3 separate regions of the Homo sapiens genome follow, and all the other regions are linked to region 2. The links are contacts of gene promoters, found by promoter capture Hi-C in human tissues and cell types (Jung and others, 2019). All regions are on one chromosome and are shown on one strand. Each heading gives the region's core, a stretch centred on a gene start or on the middle of the fragment in contact. The rest is flanking DNA. Distances are from core to core; before and after follow the strand shown.

The links. The method cuts DNA at HindIII sites, captures the fragments that hold promoters and counts their contacts. A contact is called where the count stands out against the background at its distance.
Region 1: a fragment that was not itself captured here is called in contact with the fragment with the promoter of MDM1 in region 2 in 1 of the 25 tissues and cell types used here (neural progenitor cells).
Region 3: a contact is called between a fragment that was not itself captured here and the fragment with the promoter of MDM1 in region 2, in 5 of the 25 tissues and cell types used here (H1 embryonic stem cells, adrenal gland, mesenchymal stem cells and 2 more).

What each region holds. Positions count from the first base shown.
Region 1 is chr12:68,149,275-68,154,198 of GRCh38, forward strand. No RefSeq gene overlaps it. Among named protein-coding and RNA genes, the nearest start is that of IFNG, 8.0 kb to the right of the region's middle. The HindIII fragment of the contact is 7,218 bases long and covers 1-4,924 here.
Region 2 is chr12:68,328,977-68,333,766 of GRCh38, forward strand. It overlaps MDM1 (Mdm1 nuclear protein), which reads right to left and starts at 3,386. Exons shown (of 15, transcript NM_001354969.2): 1 at 3,252-3,386; 2 at 2,131-2,245. The coding sequence starts at 3,269. LOC105369819 (a long non-coding RNA gene) reads left to right here and starts at 3,655. Exons shown (of 3, transcript XR_945057.3): 1 at 3,655-4,790. RefSeq lists an enhancer at 2,937-3,026 and a silencer at 3,327-3,586. The HindIII fragment of the contact is 12,003 bases long and covers 339-4,790 here.
Region 3 is chr12:68,545,648-68,550,022 of GRCh38, forward strand. No RefSeq gene overlaps it. Among named protein-coding and RNA genes, the nearest start is that of RAP1B, 63 kb to the right of the region's middle. The HindIII fragment of the contact is 5,997 bases long and covers 1-4,375 here.

The DNA of each region.
Region 1 (4,924 bases), core at 869-3,368, 180 kb before region 2:
GGCATGATCTCAGCTCACCACAACCTCCACCTCCCGGGTTCAAGCGATTCTCCTGCCTCAGCCTCCTGAGTAGCTGGAACTACAGGCATGTGCCACCATGTCCAGCTAATTTTTGTATTTTTAGTAGAGATGAGGTTTTACCATGTTGGTCAGAATGGTCTCAATCTCTTCACCTCAGGTGATCCGCCCGCCTCGGCCTCCCACAGTGCTGGGATTACAGGTGTAAGCCACCACACCCAGCCCATGATGGTTTTTTTCATTGAGGCCTCAGTTGGAAAATTCAAATGCTTGGAGCTACAATCATCTAAGAGCTTGCTCACACACATCTGATGATTTGTGCTGATGCTGAGTGGAAGCCTTACTGGAACTCTTGGCCAGAATATGCACACATGGTTTCCCCATGCAGCCTGAACATCTCAACATGATGTTGGGTTCTGAGGGCAAAAGTCTTGAGATGGAGAGAAGCCAGGTAGAGACTGCACCCTAGACTTCAAAGGATGTGACTTCATTTCCATTTCACTTCACTGGTAAGCAAAGTCACAAGCCCCCGCCCAGTATTTAGGGGAGGACCATACCCTCATCTTTAAGTTGGGGGAGTGTCAGTCACATTACAAGAAGAGCATGGGGATGGGGTGAATATATATGTGTGATTACTTTTGGAAATTTCACCTGTTGCAAGTTAAATATGGGGAATTCTGAGTCATCAAGAATTTTAGACCTCACCAGTCTGTGACTCTGAAATAATCTCAGAGTGACTTTTTCGTATTTATATTTTGAAAAAATATTGCAGGCTGGGCGCCTTCAAATCCCAGCACTTTGGGAGGCCAAGGTGGGTGAATCACTGAAGTCCAGGAGTTCAAGACCAGCCTGGGCAAGATGGTGAAACCACATCTCTACAAAAAGTACAAAAATAAAAAATTAGCTGGGCATGGTGGCCCATGCCTGTGGTCCCAGCTACTCGGGAGGCTGAGGTGGGAGGATGGCTTGAGCCCAGGAGGCGGAGGTTGCAGTGAGCCGTGATTGCACGAACTGCACTCTAGCCTGGGTGACAGAGTCAAATCCTGTCTTAAAAGAAAGAACAAGATTGCAAACTTACAGAAGAGTTGGAAAAGCTTTATATTTCCTGAATCATCTCAGAGTAAGTGGCTATCCTGATGCCCCTTCACCTCTGAATACATTCATGTGCACTACCTACCCACAAAGACATGTCCTGCTTAACCATGATACAAACCTCAAAATCAGGAAGTTTAAATTGATATATTACTACTCTCTCATCTTCAGACCTCATTCAAGTTCACCAGTTGTTCTAAAAATGATTTCTACTGCACAAGGATTCAGTTTAGAAACTTGCATTGCATTTAGCCATCATGTCTCTATAATTCATTTCAGAACAAAACTGTTCTTCAGTCCTTAGTCTTTCCTTAACTTATACAACTTTGATACTTTGAAGACTACAGACAAGATATTTTGTAGAATGCTTCTTAGTTTGCATTTGTATGTTTTCTCATGACTAGAATAGGTTATGCATCTTTCACAGAGATATCACAAAAGGTGTGCTATGTTCGTTTTCTTGCAACCTATCAGGTAGGATACCCTTTTCATTTATCTCATTACTAAGGATGTTCACTTTTATTCCTTGATTAAGATGGTATCTGCTAAGCTTCTCTACCATAAAATTACTCCTTTCCAATTTGTAATTAATAAATATTTTGTAGGGAGATATTTTGCAATGATGTGGCTATACCATTCCTCATCAAACTTTTGGTGTATTCATTTATATCAATATATACTCATGGTTTCCTATTATATTCAATAGGTCATAATACATTACTATCACTATTTATTTTGATGCTCAAATTTTCTCATATTTCACTAGTGGGAGTCCCTTCAAGCTGGTTTCTGTTCCTTTTAACATGTTTCCATCATCCTCTGAATACTTCTTTTTTTTCTAGCACTTCATGTACTTTCACTACCCCTGTTCTGGGATCAGCCAATTCTCCAAGGAGTTCTGGTTCATTCTAGCAAAGAATGGTATTTAGAAGTCAAGATATGGGTGATCAGTGTTCTCATTGTTATCGAGATGTTACTACTCCCAGGCCCCCTCAATGGACAGAGTTAGGGTGAACTAATATTTCTATCTATTATTTATTTCTATATCTACCTCTATATATTGAAGAGCATAAGTTAATACTGATACATCTAATTCTATTTCAATATCATAGGGTTTATTCTAATTTTCTCCTTTTCTGTACTGTACCTTCCTTCAATAGTGAGGAAAACTGGCTCCCATTATCTTTAATATAATTACTTAATTAATTTCCCATCTGCACTAATATGTCTTCCCCTATGCAGATGCCATTCTTACTTCACTCTAACACTCATGCTGGGCCATCCCAGGACACAGATGTCCTCCTCACCTTGCCTGGACTCTGACACCCTACTCCAGGCCATTCTTCCACATGGGCACCTCCTTGCTAGGCTAAGGTTCAGAGGACCCATGTCAGGCTGCCGCACTGTGATAGACTGCATAATGGACCCCCAAAGATGTCCACATCCTAGTCCCCTGAATCTGGGACTGTTGCTTTATATGGCAAAAAAAAACAAACAAACAAAAAAAAAAAAAAAAACTTCTCAGTTAAAAATCTTAAGAAGGAGGAGACAGTATCCTGAATTATTCAAGAGGTCTTAATGTAATCACGAGGGTCCTTATAAGAGGAAATCGGGAGTATCAGAGTCAGAAAGAATGAGAGAGCCTGGAAGATACTCTTCTGCTGGCTTTTAAAAAGGAAGAGGCCACTAGCTGAGGAATGAGAGTGGCCTCTAGCAGTTGGAAAAGTCAAGGAAACAGATTGTCTCCTAAAGTCTCCAGAAGGAACAAGCCCTGCCGATGCCTTGATTTTAGCCCACTGAGCCTAGTTTTGGATTTCTGCCCTCCATGATGATAAGATAATAAACGTGGGTTTTTTTTTTCAGCAACTAAGTTTGTTGTCACTTATTACCAAAGCAATAGGAAACTAATATGCTCACCCACCTCTTCAAGGACCTTCTCCTCATTCTGCTCAGGTTCTGACACCTTCCACACCAGGTTTCCTCCCTACACACTGTGCCTGGAATTTGGCTGCCCATAGTGGGCAATTACAGATGTCTACCTTACTCTGATGCACTTAATTGATTTAGAATAATATTGTTCAAATGGGAAGGAGAGAAGAATGAAGAGAACAGGATAAGAAAGAACAGGAAAATCCATTGACATTTCATGCTCAAGTTTTAATCACCAAAAATTGCCCCACCAGCAAGCATATGCCAGCAATTTCTGAAAGTCACTAAGGGTGAAAGCTATACGATAAGGGCTCTCCCACTGCAAGCCCAGGCTGCTGTCCCAGCTGCTTATAAGATTTGGGAGATACCTGCCCCTGCTGGCATTGGGAGAGGAATCAGCCCCCAAGGTGTCTTAGTCTAAAGCATGGTCCATCCCTCCTACAAGCTCCATCACACTTCTGAAACTAGGTGTGTTCATAAGAGAAGAAACATACAACATAGAGAATAATTGACAACCACTGCATAGGCCAGTCTCAACTCAAGTTCTCTTAAAGGATCTTCTCCCTGTCTCATTCCCTGCTATAATCACAGCACCTAATACAGTTTATATCTCTTCATGTCTCACAGTCTGGCCAAACTGAGATCAACCTCAGAGAGAGGGAATGTTTTATCCAGCCCTAGATTAAAATTTATCTCCTGGGGCTTCATTACACATGGTATGATTAATCACTGCTCAAGATGATCGATGGTGGGAATTTCCAATCCCTTCCCCAGAAGTATGGTCTAGAACTGTGGTCCAGGCAAGACAGCTTCACAGTAGCCCTTCATCTGTTTATACATCAAAGTCTGCATCAATGAATCTTAATTCAAACAAGAGTGGAGACACCAGTAGCAGATCATATTAGCTGTAGTTGTGCCAAAATTAACCAAATTTACTTCCAATCTTGCTTCATCAAAGATTCAAAAGTTTTAGCATCAGATCTCACCCACTGTCACTTAGTTACCCAATAATCAAAATAATGACCCCTGATTATTGTCAATGACTCAAATGATCCTTTGTGTGATCTATTTCACATAATCCTACTGTTGCTGTTGGAGGTTTATGTGAAATTGTTGAGAAGGAAGCCCCAGATGTCTAACCCTCTCTATCCTTGACATTCATGATCTTGCCACCACTACACGTTCCACAGCTGGTAGAACTAATCTCACTATATCCATTATCTTGTTTATGTCGGTAATCATAAGAAGTCTCAGACTCACAACACATCCCTATGCACGTTCCCTTTTATGACAACCTCTCTTACTTTGTCTCACTGGGTCTTCTGGAATTTACAGCCCAGAACTAACCAAATCCATCATATCCTCAACTTCCTCCTTCTCAAAAGATAAACTGGCCCTCCCCTAAGGACATTGCTTCCCCTGAATTCCTCTCAAGTGTGGCTGATTTTCTCTTCCGTCTTCTGGGCCCAGCACACTGGTCTGCTGGTTCTTCTACCACTCCAGGAAAATCTCTTCAGAGCCTTTGCAAGGATATACCTTTTGCCTGGAATTCAAATAGCTACCTCTCTTACTTCTTAAAGCGCTTCCTCAAATGGCATCTCCTCAATAAGGCCACATATAATTACCCTTTTAAACCTCTAGCCCTCCCACTCCACCATACATAGGACTCCTAATTTCCCTGTCCTGCTCTCCTTTAACTATTTTTCCATGACACCAATCACCTTAGAGAATGCCATGCAATAGACTTACATATTATGTATTTTGTTCATTGTTTATCTGTCCCTTGCTTAATTTCAAATTCCCCAGGGGCAGGGATCCTTGGCTGTTTTGCTTGAGTAAGGTATCTCAAGGTCTACAACAGCACCAGGCATGTAGTAGGTACTCC
Region 2 (4,790 bases), core at 2,136-4,635:
TGGTCTCATTTCATCACCTTCCCCTCAAATGCAGCTGATCTAAGCTGAAATGTTATTGGACAACTACCCAGTTTAATGAATTTTCCAGTGTCATAATAGCCCTGTAGGCGCTCAGCAGGGTGGGATATCTATGCTTAAACAGAGATTTATTTGGATTCTTAATCTAATGGAGGTTCAAATATGTGGAATTTCTGGTCATTTGTAAAAAGAGGATTATGAGCAGAGGGATTTTCCTAGCACCCTGCCGGAGAAGCAGGGACACCCAGTCTCTGAAGTTTGCCGCTGGGTCAGATCATGATGCTTCAGAGGAACTCTAAAAGAGACACTCACTCTTGCCCACTCTTCCCTTTGTTCTCTAGACCAAATTCTGAAAATACCTCGTCGTCTTACTAACTTTCCAGGCTTGGTACCCTACCCATAAGTCTTTTCCTGGCTTCAAACATCTAACATTTATGTGACTTACATGCCATGCTCGCACACATCACATGTGGGACACTAAGCACTGATCTGTGTACTCAAACCAGGCCCTTAATAGGCAACATCTCATTTAAACCCTCCCAGTAATCCTATGCAACAGACTTCCTAAAATCTCACTTGGTGAAACTAGCTCAATTTGCCCAACATCACACAGCTATTATAATTCAAATTTAGGCTAATTCATTCATTCAAAAAATAGTTTCAAGAAGCAATAGAATGTTCCAAGGCCTGTGTTAGGTACTGGGTGGTGAATAAGACAGAGCCCTACTCTCAGAGATCTAATATACTAGTAAGGAAGAATTAAATAAGCAGGTATAATGAGGTCAGTCTGTCTCCCTTCTGTTCTATCACCCTCCGGGAAACTCTGGCCCAGGACTCTGCCTTCCCTGGGACACAGGGAGGAGGCATGTGTGATAACAAGAACATGACCTCTGAAATTACATGCTTTGCACAAAACAGACTTGATTTCAAATCATGGTTCTGCCACTTACTAGCTGTAAAGCTGGGGCAGCGACCTCATCTCCCTAAGCTTCCATTTCTCAAGACCTTGGGAGCACTCTTCCCCAGCATTGTCCCCTCAGCTTTCAGGTCTCAGCTCAAATATCACCTCCTCAAAAAGAGCCTTTCCCAACCATCTAATCTAAAGCATTTTCCCTCCAATCCACTCCTCCCGCATGTTATGTATCACACTTCCCTACAATTTTATATAAAAACCTGAAATTCCCTTAATTATTGAGTGACTTGCTTACTGTTTCTCTCCACAGTTAAGGGACTTTGGTTCAGGGCTATATCCCTAGTGTTCCCAGACCAAACTGAGGGTCAGGCTGCTATTTCTCTCGGCCAATAACGAGATGCAGATAAACTAGGGAGAAAGAGAGTTTTTATTTCTATAACCAGTTACGGGAAGAAGGCCTGCAAATTATCACCAGACGAACCCCAAATTACAAAGTTTTTCAGAGCTTATATACCTTCTAAGCTATATGTCTACGTGTAAGTGTGCATTCATCTAAGGATATAAGTGATTAACTTCTTTTAATCTATAACTAAGGTCTGAGTCCTGAAGACCTTCTTCTGGAGCATCAGTAAATTTACTTAATCTAAATGGGTCTAGGTGCTGGGCTGATTACCCTTATCTTGTCTCCTGCTGAATCATGGAGGTTTGAGGAGTTCCTTCAGACCGCCAATAAATTTGTGGAGGCCTGGGGAGTTTCTTCAGACCCCCAGTAAAACTTGTTTAATCCTAAACGGATCCTGTTAAGAATTCCTTATTTTGTCATGCTTTATGGCCCAGGAAAGGCCTAGGCAATACTCTTGATGGGCTTTTGTGACATCCCAGCCTTTGTGTAAGGGCACTGGCTTTTTTTAGCTTTCAATATTTAACTTAACCGCTCAGTCAGTACCGAAACAGTTGTGATGGAGGCCTCCATTAGTGAAACCTGGCCTGCCACACTAGCTGCTGGGAATAGTCCTGGCTCATAGTAAACCTTCAATAAATACTTGATTAATAAATGAATAAATCAACCAGGCCAACTGAACTTTTAATATATCATTTGGTAAACTTAGCCCAAGGTTTACTTAGCCCAAGTTATAACGGCTTGGCCCAAGTTATAAACTTAGCCCAGGTTAGAATGGCTATTAGCCTGCTCAACTTACCTAATTGATCTGATCTAAGTCCAGCCCATGGGTACTTTCGCCCCACGGAGGAATTACAAGACTCGGACAAATAAGACTTTTTCCACAGGAAGTTCCTCTGGTATTCACTCAGCCCCTGTAATGCAAAGTACACTTTTGAGTACAGTCCAATTAATGAATGATGTTTTAAAGCAGACATCGGTGAAAAATAATTTCTGAACCTCCCAAAAGAGACTTAAGACTGAAAATTAAACACAGACGAGCTCCTTAATAAGAGCTAATATTCACCCAGCCCTGTGCTAAGCAGTTCACACGTGTTATATCCTTTAATCCACAACACCACTTGAGGCAGATGCTACCAGGAATTCCAGGCTCAGAGGTTACCCTTTCACTGATTATCTGATTCCAAAGCATGAGTTCTTGTCGGATAACTAATGACAATCTAAATTCTCATCATTCTAGATTTATCGCAGGTTTTCACCGAGTACACAATATTATGTACCATGCCTAGGACCTTTTGCTATTTGATAAAGTCAACAAAAGGCAAACTCCCCTTCCATTCTGAATACACGCCTTTAAGATAAATGAGTCAGGAGATGTGGGACGCTGTGGCCACCTGTGAAGTTGCAGGGTGCTAGTCCCTGACAGCTACCAGCTACCTGGAACTTTTAACATACGCTAAGAATGCACAACGATGAAAAACGTGTATTTCTTTATACGCTGTCTTTACTAAGAACCCATTTCTCAAGCCTTTAAAAGCCACATACACTAAAGTTTTAAAGGTAATGGGGGTTAAATGCTAAGCTAAATGGGCCACAGGTGTCCCAATCTGAAGTCGCCTTTAGTTCTCTTCGCAAAGGGACCTCCTCCCATCTCCACTCCTCTTGAGTCCCCCTAAGTAAATGTGTCTCGCACCATCTGACTCTTCGACACACTGCAGCTTGCAAATGTGAGTGAGCGGAGAGGGAACTAGGTTAAGAGGCGGCGGGCAGATTCTGGGGCCCCTCGAGCAGGCCCTGGGGCTGGCAGCTTCCGCCGGGCAGAGGGCTGCAGCGCAGAAAAGCAGCGTGACCTCGGCGCTCCACACCTCCCCGGCCATGGCTCCCCCCAGCCACATTCCGGCCCGGGGACCCCAGCCTCACCTTGAAGCGCACCGGCATGTCGCCCGGCGCCGGAGCCCCCGCTACTCCGACAGTTAACTGGAGAAAAAGCTCCGAGGGGGCGGGGCGATAACAGTGTTCCCTAGCAAAGCCTCGGCCCGGCGTCCCCGACTACGCGCCGGCGCACTCCGCGCTTCCCGCCTAGAGGCCTGTCGGTCTGTTTTTCCCCGCCCTTTTTGGAGCCTAGGGACCAATAGAGACTCGCAGAGTGCCTTACCTCCATTAGGATTTGACCAATGAGTGGCCGAAAGGGAGCCGCCTACCTCCCTTGCCAAATCCCTGGGGCTGATAGAGATGGCGGGCGGAAGGCCGGCCAATAAGGCTCCCGGAACCGGGCTGGGCGGGACCCCGGGGGTGCCTTCCTGGGTTGGGTGGACCGGTCCCTGGTTCGCCGGGTCCTGCGCAGCAATGCGTCTGCTTGCTGGTGGAATTCGCCAGCCGCCAGCCTCGCTGGCCCAGGTGCTTGACAGCATCAAAGGTCAAAGTGTGTTCTTCATGCTAACATCTATGAGAAAACCGAACGCTTCTTTTTCTGAAAGTGCTCAGATTTATTCTGCTGAATATCGGTTCGTACAAACGACAGCCGCATTACAGTTTATTGTCACATCAAAAGGGAAAGGCCAAAAAAATATATAACTTAGGCAAGATTTTTGAAACTTTATTGAAACTCGAAAGACAAACTGCTGTCTCTTCCTCCAGTGATGTTCTTCCTCCTTCAATCTCTACCTTCCCCAAAATGATGTACATACAGCCCTTAGATGAGAAAACGTTTATTGAAGATGGTTGTCTCAACTTCCAAACCTTCAGCCTTGTCTCTCCGCTCAACCTTTTTTTAAAAATAAAACTTCATCTGATTTTAATCGACTATTGCCATCATCGTCGATAAATGTTTCTTGACAGAATACTGCTGATTCTGAGAATTGGGAAAGAAAGAAATTGTCCAGATAGTTCTCTGATATACTTGGGAAGGACATACATCTTTATTTATTTATTTATTCATTATTTATTCAATAATGGTGTAATGTGACATGTGCTAAATTTCTAAATGAAAGGTGTCAATAATAAGGGCTACAGGATCTGGGAGCAGGGAGTCATTTCGGACGGCAGAAGATGCGTCAGGAGGAAATATTCAGACTGAAAGGACTGCAATAAGTAAAAAGTGGGACGATGAAAGGGCAGATGTCTGAATGGAATGCTGCCAGGCTTCTTCCAGGAACAACAAATGAGTGCCTTTTACATTTGTCATGTGTTGACTGAATAAAAGTATACCACTCTTAAACTTTCAAATATCAACACCAATCCTTGATGCTTCCCTTTAAGCATTTTCCGCAAAAGCTGTCTTCCTGAATCCTGATTGATGTCTTTGTTCTTCATCATCATCGAGATACTTAAAAATCATTTGAAGAAGCCACCTGATATCTGGAACAAAGAGCATATTAAATTAGTCCCAATGCAGCCATGCATCCAGGGGGCCCTTGATTAATGTTAATTGGTGATGACAGCATCTCTGTCGTGTAAATT
Region 3 (4,375 bases), core at 644-3,143, 220 kb after region 2:
AGGTATGTAGCCCCCAAGCTGATGTGTGTTATGACCCATCTGAGCCTCCCATGACCATAGTTTTTAAAATAAGATTAAGGACTGAGGACTAGTGAGGGCTCATAAATGATATGAGTAAAGTGTTAGCCAAAACAGAAGAAAAAGGAGTGCCCAAACAAGTCACCTTGAAATTTGATGCCTGTGCTGTCATTAATAGTAATAAGTTAGGAATAGGATGTGGTTCTCTTAATTAGGAAAGAGGCTATATGACAGAAAATAAGTACATTTGTCATGAATTAAGACTGTGTGGAAATGAATGTGGATACTGGTCTTGTGTCATTTAGGCTACTTGGATAAAAAAATGAAAGGAATCCTGTCCATCTTCAGAAAGGGAAAAGTGACCCTTCGTGTACCAGTGGTCTGTGTAACCCCTTAGAACTAGTAATAACCAACTCCCTTGATCCTCGCTGGAAATAAGGGGAGCATGTAACCCTAGGAATCGATGGGGCTGGACTGGATCCTCAAGTAAATATCGTGGTTTGAGGAGAAGTTTATAAACGCTCTCCTGAGCCAGTATTTCAAACCTTCTATGATGAACTAAATGTGCCAGTACCAGAAATTCCAGGAAAAACAAGAAATTTGTTTTTGCAATTAACCAAGCATGTAGCCCAGTCTCTCAATGTCACTTCATGTTATGTATGTGGAGGAACTGTAATGGGAGATCAATGGCCATGGGAAGCCTGAGAATTAGTACCTACAGACCCAGTTCCTGATGAATTCCCAGCTCAAAAGAATCACCCTGATAACTTCTGGGTCCTAAAAGCCTCAGTCATTAGACAATACTGTATAGCAAGAGTGGGGAAGGACTTCACCCTTCCTGTGGGAAGACTCAGCTGCCTTGGGCAAAAACTGTATAATAGTACTACAAAAACAGCCACCTAGTGGAGTTCAAACCACACTAAGAAAAATCCATTTAGTAAATTCCCAAAGTTGCAAACCGTGTGGACCCACCTGGAGTCCCACTGGGACTGGACAGCCCCCACTTGATTATACTGAATATGTGGGCATAGAGCTTACACCAAATTACCCGACCAGTGGGCAGGTAGTTGTGTTATTGGCACTATTAAACTATCTTTCTTCCTACTGCCCATAAAGACAGGTGAACTCCTGGGCTTCCCTGTCTATGCTTTCTGCAAAAAGAGAAGCATAGCTATAGAAAATTAAAAAGAAGATGAACAGCCCCCTGAGAGAATCATACAATATTATGTGCCTGGCACTTGGGCACAAGATGACTCATGGGGATACCAGACCCCCATTTACATGCTCAACCAAATCATATGGTTACAAGCTGTCTTAAAAATAGTCACTAATAAGACTGGCAGAGCCTTGACTATTCTGGCCCAGCAAGAAACTCATATGAGAAATGCTATCTATGAAAATAGATTGGCTCTCGACTACTTGCTAGCAGCTGAAGGAGGGATCTGTAGGAAATTTAACCTTACTAATTGCTGTCTACACGTAGATGATCAAGGGCAAGTAGTTGAAGACATAGTTAGAAATATGACAAAACTAGCACATGTGCCCGTGCAAGTGTGGCATGGATTTGATCCTGGGGCCATGTTTAGAAAATGGTTCCCAGCACTAAGAAGATTTAAAACTCTTCAAATAGGAGTTGTAATAGTAATAGAAACCTGCTTACTGCTCCCTTGTTTGCTACCTCTACTTCTTCAAATGATAAAAAGCTTCATCGCTACCTTAGTTCATCAAAATGCTTCAGCACAAGTGTACTATATGAATCACTATTGATCTGTCTTGCAAGAAGACATGGGTAGTTAGAATGAAAGTGAGAACTCCCACTAATGAGTGAAGTTCTCAAAAGGGGGAATAAAGGAGGAGACCACCCCTCATATTGTCTTATGACCAATTTCTGCCTCCAAAGAAAGAAGAAGTAAAAACTAAAAGGCAGAACTGATATCCAAAGGCAGACAGCCCAGCGCCACACCCTGGGCCTGGTAGTTAAAGATTGACCCCTGACCTAATCGGTTGTGTTATCTATAGATTACAGACATTGTATAGAAAAGCACTGTGAAAATCCCTGTCCTGTTCTGTTCTGTTCTGTTCTAATTACCGGTGCTTGCAGCCCCCAGTCACATACCCCCTGCTTGCTCAATCAATCACGACCCTCTCATGCAGACCCCCTTAGAGTTGTGAGTCCTTAAAAGGGACAGGAATTGCTTACTTGGGAAGCTCGGTTTTTGAGACATGAGTCTTGCTGATGCTCCTGGCCGAATAAAGCCCTTCCTTCTTTAACTCGGTGTCTGAGGGGTTTTGTCTGAGGCTCGTCCTGCTACACTAAGATTATAATAGAAGTGACTTGCCAAATCAATTTTCTACCTCTGTTTCACCACTGTATGGAAAAGCAGGTGACAAGACTGTGGCACAGAGGAAACAGGAATGCTGTTTTCTCACTGAGGCTGTTCAGAGCTTCAGTTGTCTGATTTCCTCAGCTGTGAATCTCTTTATGCACCCAGCCCCCTACCAGCTTCATAAAAATCAGGCTCCCAGGGAAGACCACAGCACAGTAGGATCCAATCTAAGAAGTGGATGTTCAAAAAATAAGGCAACATTTGCATGTGTAGAATATGTTTTTTGAGAAATATCATCATGAATTTCTTTTTAGGGCAGTGGGGCATTCAAACACTCAACTTGACAACCGACAATACCTTCAAAGAGAACATGCTGATTATAATAGTCAGATTTTCAGAAAACCTGAGGGCCAATTGCAATGCACTGAGTATTGTTTAAATGTGGATTGCATTCCACTAGATAGTTGTTAAATACCAACTCTATACAAGGTATCATGAGGATCACAGGCTGAGTAAAATAGTCCTTTCCCTTAAGACACACATCCTCACAGAATAGAGATGATGGTAGTAGTAAAATTAACCCTGACTAATATTTCCTGAGTGTTTACCATGTGTCAGATGCTTGATATGCATTATCTTCTATAATCTTTATGACAACCACAAGAAGTAAGGATTGTTTATTTCTTCATTTGCAGATAAAGAAACCAAAGCCAGAAGAAAGACAGTGGTGAAACCAAGATTCAAATTCCAAAAGTTGGACACCACCAAAGTTCCCACTCCTAAGCATTCTATTTATTACTATTATTATTATTATTATTATTATTATTATTATTATTATTATTTTGAGTACAGAGTCTGACCCTGTCACCCAGGCTGGCGTGTATTGGCACAATCATGGCTCACTGCAGCCTGATGCCCCTAGGCGTTCTGCTATATTGCATCCATTATCATGATGCTAAAACAGAAATGTGCATTGGGAATGACTGGGAGTGGAGAATAGATGAGTTGAGAGAACTAGGAGAAATTTTTTGAAAAGCTGTGAATACCATAACAAATAATATAAATGGCAATTCTTGAAGATTTTCTTCATCATCACATTCTCTTCTGTCTATTTTAGGCCAGGCACAGTGGTTCATGCCTGTAATCCTAGCACTTTGGGAGGCTGAGGCAGGTAGATCACCTGAGGTCAAGAGTTCGAGACCAGCCTGGCCAATGTGGTGAGACCCTGTCTCTATCAAAAATACAAAAATTAGACAAGTGTGGTGGCAGGTGCCTGTAATCCCAGCTATTTGGGAGGCTGAGGCAGGAGAATCACTTGAACCTGGGAGGCAGAGGTCACAGTGAGTTGGCACACCATTGTACTCCAACCTGGGCAACAGAGTGAAATTCCATCTAAAAAAAAAAAAAGTCTGTTTTTTACTTTATTCTTGCTCTTCAAACTTCCAACACCTTTGTTACTCTCCTTCTAGCTGCTGAGAGTCTTATTGTTTTGCTGAGAAAATAGAGGCAATCAGAAAAGAATTTCCAAAGAGTCCCAAGACTACATCAACAAACTTCTCTCCAATGTCCCCATGTACTCTGCCCACACTTTCTATGATGGAGGAACTTTCCATACTCCTATCTATGGCTAGCCCCTTCACCAGACACTGGGTCCCAGGCTTTCTCACCTTCTCAAGGACACTAATGACACTGCTTCAGCAAATGTCCCCTCTCTCCTGTGTTATCCATCATTATTCCTATTATCATGAAATTTGCCCTACCTAGCTCATTAAAAACAAACCTCCCTGTACCACATCATCCCTTTAAGCTACCTCCCTATTTTACTTTCTCATGACAGCAAAGTTTTTCTAAACTAAAGGACTGTTGTAACTCACTGCCTGTACTTCCTTACTTTTTTTCTGTCTTGAAAAATCTCCATTCAGGCTGTAACCACTTCACCAACACAATGTGAAAAACTGTGCTTATCAACTTCCCCCCTGTCCAATGGCAAAATTCAAATGTCAGTTACTCAACACAGTTGATTATTCTCT